Regions from separate parts of the Homo sapiens genome. Here region 1 is linked to region 2. The links are contacts of gene promoters, found by promoter capture Hi-C in blood cells and fetal thymus (Javierre and others, 2016). All regions are on one chromosome and are shown on one strand. Each heading gives the region's core, a stretch centred on a gene start or on the middle of the fragment in contact. The rest is flanking DNA. Distances are from core to core; before and after follow the strand shown. Region 1 overlaps HDAC3 (histone deacetylase 3). Region 2 holds the start of NDUFA2 (NADH:ubiquinone oxidoreductase subunit A2).

Region 1 (4,128 bases), core at 1,349-3,848, 980 kb before region 2:
TCATCCATAGAAGAGTCAGGGTTAGACCCTCTGGGGAAGAGAGTGGACAACAAAGATAAGCCACACTCTACTCTATATCCATGAAAAAATAGTAACCATCACAGCTACCAGTTGCTCAATTCTACTTACTTTTGTTTTTAAACTTTTTATTAGGGAAAATTTCAAAAATTTCTGAAAGTGAAGTAGTGCAGTGACCTCCCATACGTCCATCACCTAGCTTCAACGCTTATGAGCAAATGGCCACTCTTTTTTTTTTTTTTTTTTTTTTTGAGACAGAGTCTCACTCTGTAGCCCAGGCTGGAGTGCAGTGGTGCAGTCTTGGCTCACTGCAACCTCTGCCTCCTGGGTTCAAGCGATTCTCATGCCTCAGACTCCCGAGTAGCTGGGATTACAGGCGCCTGCCACCATGCCTGGCTAATTTTTGTATGTTTAGTAGAGATGGGGTTTCACTATGTTGGTCAGGCTGGTTTTGAACTCCTGACCTCAGGTGATCCACCAGCCTCAGCCTCCAAAAGTGCTGGGATTACAGACGTGAGCCATCGCACCCAGCTGAGCAAGTGGCCACTCTTACTTCATCTATACTCCCTCATGTTAGATTGTTTTAAAGCAGATCCTAGATGTTATATCCTTTTATCCATAAATATTTTATTATGTATCTCTAAATGATACTCTTTTAAAAAAACATAGTATCATTATCAAACCTAAAAAGTTAACAGTGATTCCTTAATGTCATCAAATATGGGATCAATATTCAAATTTCTGCAGTTGTCTCATAATTATTTTGTAGCTAATTTAAATCCAGATCTAAACAAGGTCTATACAGTGCATTTGGTTGATATGTCTCTTAAGACTTTTAATTTGTAGCTTTTCTGTCACCCCCTTGAATTTATTTCTTGAAGAAACCAGGTTGTTGATCCTGTAGAATTTCTTATGATAGCTACCATTTACTGAGTGCTTACTCTGCTAGGTATTATGCCAAGGGTTGCTGGTAAATCCACTTAATTCTCATACCAATCCTTAGATGTATTATAATAGACCTTTTTCTGATGTTATATATAAGTAAATTGAGGTTTGGGAATATCTAGGTAACTTAGCCGTAGTCACATAACTGGTCATTGGAGGGGGCATGATCCAGATCCCGGGTTTTTAAACCACTAATCTGTTTTCCTGAAAGATCTTAATGACAGAAGCAGCCAGGGCTGTAGGATAGAGGCCAACTCATTAGGCTGGCATTGGCACCTTTCCAACTTTATCCCTACACCTCAGCTGCACAGGATGCCTTCCTGGAATGCCCTTAGTTCTCTATTCAACCTCTTCAAGGCCTTCTCAGCCTTCACACCATCTCCATGAAACCTTTCTTGACCACACCAGCCCATAGAGCTCTGTCTTGCACACACTGCACTGCTCATTTGGTGTTCAGTCACATGCTGTTTGGGGAGGTTTCTTGTTTTTTTGTTAGTATTCCTGCTGTTATTTCTGAGCTCACTTTCTAGCTCTGTGAATACAGGGTCAGCCCTTACGCCACACTGGGGTCCCGTAGATGCTCTTTGTGCGATTAGGGAATGCTAATTAGAATACTATCTCTGGGCTATTTATGCTGCATCAGTCTTCCTGTCAAACAAGTTACAGTTGTGCTTATCTGTATTTCCGATGAGAATCAGGAATTTTTCTTCTGTTTAATGAATTTCTGATTGGTTTCAAAGTATTCTAACATAAGTAGCCAAATTGTACTATAGGCCTTTAAATGAAAAAAATAAAAAAGTAGTCCCAAGCCGGGCGCAGTGGCTCACGCCTGTAATCCCAGCACTTTCGGAGGCCGAGGCGGGTGGACCACCTAAGGTCAGGAGTTCAAGACCAGCCTGGCCAACATGGTGAAACCCCATCTCTACTAAAAATACAAAAATTAGTCATGTGTGGTGGCACGTGCCTGTAGTCCCAGCTACTCCAGGAGGCTGAGGCAGGAGAATTGCTTGAACCCGGGAGTTGGAGGTTGCAGTGACCTGAGATTGCACCACTGCACTCCAGCCTGGGCAACAGAGTGAGACTCTGTCTTAAAAAAAAAAAAAAAAAAAAATTCCAGACCTCTCCTTTTCACCCATAAATCCCTCTGCCCAGTGACAGCCACTTTCAGCTCCTTTCCCCTATGTCTTCTGGTATTTACCTTTGGATTTCTAAATAATAATATTAATTGACTGTTATTACTAATCTGTAATCCTTAGGTAATACCTGTTATATACTAGGTACTGTTCTAAGTGCTTTACAGCCATTAGCTTATTTAATCTCAACAACCCCTATGAAGCAGGGTCTATTATTGTTTCCTTTTACCGATGAGGACACTTAAGCACAGAAAGGTTAAACAGTTTGTACAACCTCACTATCATTAGTAGGTGTTAAAGAACCTAGGTAGTCTAGCTCCAGAATCGGTGCTTGTAATCATACTCCCCTCCTGTATTGTCTCTCATTGCTATTTCTTCGTCTGTCAATTTTAGGCATTATCTGTTAAGCTTTTAGTATGGGATATGAGCATTTAGTCTTCTTACACCATCACATTGGCTTCCTTTCCCCTTTCAGCTTCATAGTAATTTAAAAATAAATCAGTATTCTGTGTTTACATTATTATAACTCTGAAAGATTCATTTACTATCAAGCCAAATAGTGTAGTGTGATTTAATCTATTTTCTTCTAAAGCTTTTTGTTTTTCCTGGAGCTGACAATTGCATTATTTTTTCATTTGCTTAGTTTTCTGGTATTAATCACTAATTCTTTCCAAGCCTTTTGAGAAACTATAAAACCCTACAATTCTTGCTTGAACCCGGGAGGCGGAGGCTGCAGTGAGCCGAGATCGCACCATTGCACCCCAGCCTGGGCGACAGAGCAAGACCCCATCTCAAAAAACAAACAAACAAAAAACCCCTACAGTTCTGTTTTTCACATGGTCAAATGTATCAGCTGCACTATTTTTTTTTTTTGAGACCTAAAACTAGGGATTGCCTAAGCCTTTCCTTTTTAAAAAGTCAGGTTTATATAGGTATAACTTGCATACAGTAAAATTAACCTTTTTTAGGTGTAAGAGTTCTGAGAGGTTTGATAGAATATATCAAGGTATAGGGCCAGCGCCGATGGCTCACACCTGTAGTCCCAACAATTTGGGAGGCCAAGGCGGGAGGATCACTTAGGCCCAGGAGTTTGAGACCAGCTTGGGCAACATAGTGAGACCCTGTCTCTACAAAAAAAAAAAAAAAAAAGGTATCAAGGTACAGGAAATTTCCACTACCCAACAAAGGTCACTCACCCTTTTGTAGTTAATAACTTCTCTGCAACCTAGATCCAGCCAACTACTGATAAGATGTCTGTCCTTGTATTTTACCTTTTCCAGAATGTTACATAAATGGAGTCATACAGTAAGTAGGCTTTTGTGTCTGGCTTCAAGCCTTTACTTTTTATAAAGAATAACAATGGTAATAATTATAGCTGACATTTATTAAAGGCTGAGCGGATACTGTATACTGTGCTACAGGCTTTTCGTGGGTTATCTCATCACTGTTTCACATATGTAGGTATACAGTTCTTTCTTTAAAATATGTGACTGAAAAATATTATTGAACATTATGCTAAAATTTGTTACACTGAGAAGACTAAGAAAAACAGAGCTCATGTTTTCTTTCAACTGATTTCCTTTTTACATTGTACTTGAGTACCTGGAAGCTGCTTGCTTCTTTCCGCAGCTAGGATACAAACTCCCTGACAGTTAAGTGCTTCTTTACTTCCCATCCAGTGCCTTGCACAGGGCTTGGTACATGGTTTGGTCCAAAATATTTGTTGAATAAATTTGCAGATAGCCCACGTGTGTAGGAGAGGGAGAGAAGGTTCTTGAAAAATGGAGATTGGAGGAATCTAGGATGGGGAGGGAGATATGGGAAGGGCCCAGACAGAGGCAGGAGGGTTCCAACTTGTTCCTCTTCCCTGCAGCCCAGTGTTTCCCGGGCTCTTTGAGTTCTGCTCGCGTTACACAGGCGCATCTCTGCAAGGAGCAACCCAGCTGAACAACAAGGTGACATAGTCCCGAGTCCTGTTCTTCCTTTCCTCTGGATCCCTGGACTCGGGATTTAACCCTGATCCTGGGCTCCC
Region 2 (3,533 bases), core at 337-2,836:
AAGAAAGAAAAGAAAAGAAAAGAAAAAAAAAAAGAAATGGACTGGAATTGGGGATGTTATCAAAGATGATTTTATCGGGGGCCAGGCACGGTGGCTCACGCCTGTACTCCCACCACTTTGGGAGGCAGAGGCGGGTGGATCACCTGAAGTCGGGATTTCAAGACCAGCCTGATCAACATGGAGAAACCCCATCTCTACTAAAAATACAAAATTAGCCGGGCGTAGTGGAACATGCCTGTAATCCCAGCTACTCGGAAGGCTGAGGCAGGAGAATTGCTTGAACCCGGGAGGCGGAGGTTGTGGTGAGCCGAGATCGCACCACTGCATTCCAGCCTGAGCAACAAGAGCGAAACTCAGTCTCAAAAAAAATAAAAAGATGATTTTACCCTTATTTCCTATGTTTTAATTTGCTATTGGAAGAAGTAATTCCTATATAATGTGTAATTACACAACACGTATAAAAAAAAAAAAAAACTTAACACCTTTCCTGCAGGAATTTCCCTTCTAATACCCTTATGCACTTGGCCTGATCCAGTTAAGGCTCACAGAGATAAAGGGCCAGCGGGTATAATTTTTTACCATCCTTGATGACAAGACATTCAGAATTCTTTCACCATCACCACCACTTTTCTATTCATTGCCCAACTCATTTCCATGGTCCTAGCACAAAATACTCACTGGTGGAAGGAGTGAGGATCATCCACATCGTGGCCATCGGGGGCCAAAGGGTTGGAGAACGGCTCACCTGACAAAAAAAATTGACGTTAATTTAATCAGTCTCTTACGTGTCAGATCCTATGCAAAAATTTGAGATATAGTAGTGAACAATACAGAACAAAAGTTAGAACAGCGACAGTGTCAACACAATGTAATAAGTGCTGAAATAGGAAACTACAAGAAGCTGTGGGAGCACAAAGCAGAGGACCCTAATCCTGCGCTGGAGGATCAGAGAAGACTTCCGGAAGATCACGTCTAAAATACTACGTAAAAGATAAATACGCGCAACCCAGGATTAAGTATGGGGACAGGACTGGGGGAAAGCGATCCACGCACAAAAGCCGCCCATCATCACTTGGAGTAGGAGTGAGGACTGGGGACGGAGTTTGGAGCTGTCGGCCTCACTTAGGACCCTGTGGCTTCTCCGGGCTCAAGCGTCACACATACATACATACACACACACACACACACACACACACACACACACACACCCGGCTTAAGCTCAGAAGCTACAATAATGCGCCAAGTGCCCCAAGTGCCATGGGGAAGAAATAACGGATGGCCTGAGCCTTACTATCTCGCTCCGGCATTTTGTTATCGTTCTTTCGCTGTCACCAACAATCGAGTCTCCAACAGCAACACCGCAGCGACAAGCTCTTTCCCACAGTGCACCTCAGAATCAACCCACACTGCTTTGCGTTCGCAGCCTTTCCGCTTCCTGTTTTTCCCTCCGACCAACCCCGAGCGCAAAGAAATTGACCTCGCAGCGGTCCTACAATACTTTTATATCATTGGCCAAGCTTTACCCCGCCCCTGCCTCATGCAGCCTATGGGCTAGGCTTTAGGGTCCGCGGTTGGTCAGACCGGAGCACTTGGCCTGAAGACCTGGAATTGGCGACTTCGATATTAACAAGGATGGCGGCGGCCGCAGCAAGTCGAGGAGTCGGGGCAAAGCTGGGCCTGCGTGAGATTCGCATCCACTTATGTCAGCGCTCGCCCGGCAGCCAGGGCGTCAGGTGAGGCGCGGCGTGGTGAGGCGGGCGGGCTTCGGGACGCCAGGGTCACGACCTCGACCTCCCTGAAGTTGAGGGAAGCCCCCGCCCACAGCACGCGCGGCGCTCTCTCCGGCCCCGCAGGGACTTCATTGAGAAACGCTACGTGGAGCTGAAGAAGGCGAATCCCGACCTACCCATCCTAATCCGCGAATGCTCCGATGTGCAGCCCAAGCTCTGGGCCCGCTACGGTGAGTGCGGGACGCCAGGGGTCTGGGGCTCCGGTAGGGGAACAAGGGTTTGAGAAGAGAAGGGACCGCCCAAGGTCGTGCAGAAACCCGTGGAGAAACTAGAACTCGGACTTTAGCCTTGCTGTTGATCTTGTTTCCATGAAGAAATTTATATTCGCAGGGTTATATGATGCGTTGTATTCCGGGCAACATAAGTATGCAGGCTGACCGAATCCTGCGTAGGGACCAGGAGCTGACGTTTTTGTAGTTAAGAATGGGCTTCAGACAGGAGAGAAGTTAGTCAATATAGTTTCTCCAAATAACGTGTAGCCAGTGTCAGTCCAGGTAGTGTGTGAGAATCTCAGTAATTTTGCACATAGAGCTGGGCCCTGTGCTGAGTGCTTCCCTGCCTAACTCATTTAATCTTCATTAGTTAGGAGGAAGCGTGTTCTTCTTTTCTCACTGTAGAGATTAGAAAACGGAATCAAAACTTTGTTTTGCACTATTGTTAAACTCTAGCTGCAACTTTAGATGCAGCTAGAGTTTAACAGGATTGAGCCTTTACATTTATTCCCCTTCCTAGAATGCACTTACCCCTCTAAGACTGGCATGGCAATGTATTGCAAAATGAAATTTTCCTATCATGTTGCCTAACACATTGTAGGTATGCAATAAATGTTTATACATACTGAATAACAGGATTTTAATCACAGCTTTTAACTATATGGTGCCCTGGGAATGACGGGAGGAGGTGGAGGAGAGTGACCACCTTAAGCAGATTGGTTCTCAGAGTAGATATCTGTGAGACACAGTAGACATTAGACATGCACTAATAATTGGAGAAGGAAAAAAGCTTCTCCTTCCAAAAGCCAGTAGACTACAGGAGGAGATAGACACGAGTAACTTTAGTGTATTGTGCTGGGTATTATGTTAGATAGCCTATGGGAGCCTAGAGAATGGGTACCCAGCTGGGTGCGGTGGTTCACGCCTGTAATCCCAGCACTTTGGGAGGCTGAAGCAGGTGGATCACCTGAGGTCAGGAGTTCAAGACCAGCCTGGCCAACATGGTAAAACCCCGTCTCTACTAAACATACAAAAATTAGCCGGGTGTGGTGGCGGGCACCTGTAATCCCAGCTACTCAGGAGGCTGAGGCAGGAGAATTGCTTGAACCCAGGAGGTGGAGGTTGCAGTGAGTGGAGATCGTGCCACCACACTCCAGCCTGGGTGACAGAGCGAGACTCCGTCTCAAAAAAAAAAAAAAAAAAAGAGAGAGAATGGGCTCCCAGCTGAGGCTGGACCCATGCAATACATTGCTCACCGTAGTTAATAATAAATGCCTACAGTGCCCCCGAAAGCTTCCCTGAAACAACCCATTGCGGCCATCCAGAATCAGCCAAAATTCTATTTGGACTTGGGCTTCCTAGATGTGTTTGAGACCTATTGTATTAATTCTAGGCATACCAAATGTATTTTGATCATATCTCTTTAATACTCTTCCTGTCTTAACAAGACTAAGATAAAGACAAAGATCTTTTATTTTACTTTGGTAGCCTCCAGGGTGCAGAATAGTTAAAGACACCTCCCTCTCTCTCT

Evidence for each region. Contacts are between HindIII fragments. The CHiCAGO score rates a contact against its expected background, and 5 or more counts as called.
Region 1: a fragment that was not itself captured here is called in contact with the fragment with the promoter of NDUFA2 in region 2 in 1 of 17 cell types (erythroblasts); the score reaches 5.5 in erythroblasts.

What each region holds. Positions count from the first base shown.
Region 1 is chr5:141,629,967-141,634,094 of GRCh38, reverse strand. It overlaps HDAC3 (histone deacetylase 3), which reads left to right. Exons shown (of 15, transcript NM_003883.4): 4 at 3,970-4,051. Among named protein-coding and RNA genes, the nearest start is that of HDAC3, 4.8 kb to the left of the region's middle. The HindIII fragment of the contact is 184 bases long and covers 2,507-2,690 here.
Region 2 is chr5:140,645,683-140,649,215 of GRCh38, reverse strand. It overlaps NDUFA2 (NADH:ubiquinone oxidoreductase subunit A2), which reads left to right and starts at 1,586. Exons shown (of 3, transcript NM_002488.5): 1 at 1,586-1,733; 2 at 1,854-1,960. The coding sequence starts at 1,633. It overlaps IK (IK cytokine), which reads right to left and starts at 1,387. Exons shown (of 20, transcript NM_006083.4): 1 at 1,292-1,387; 2 at 679-745. The coding sequence starts at 1,307. It overlaps MIR3655 (microRNA 3655), which reads right to left and starts at 1,372; the gene lies at 1,290-1,372. It also overlaps a transcript of TMCO6 not described here. RefSeq lists enhancers at 1,313-1,848, 1,589-2,008. The HindIII fragment of the contact is 1,275 bases long and covers 1,520-2,794 here.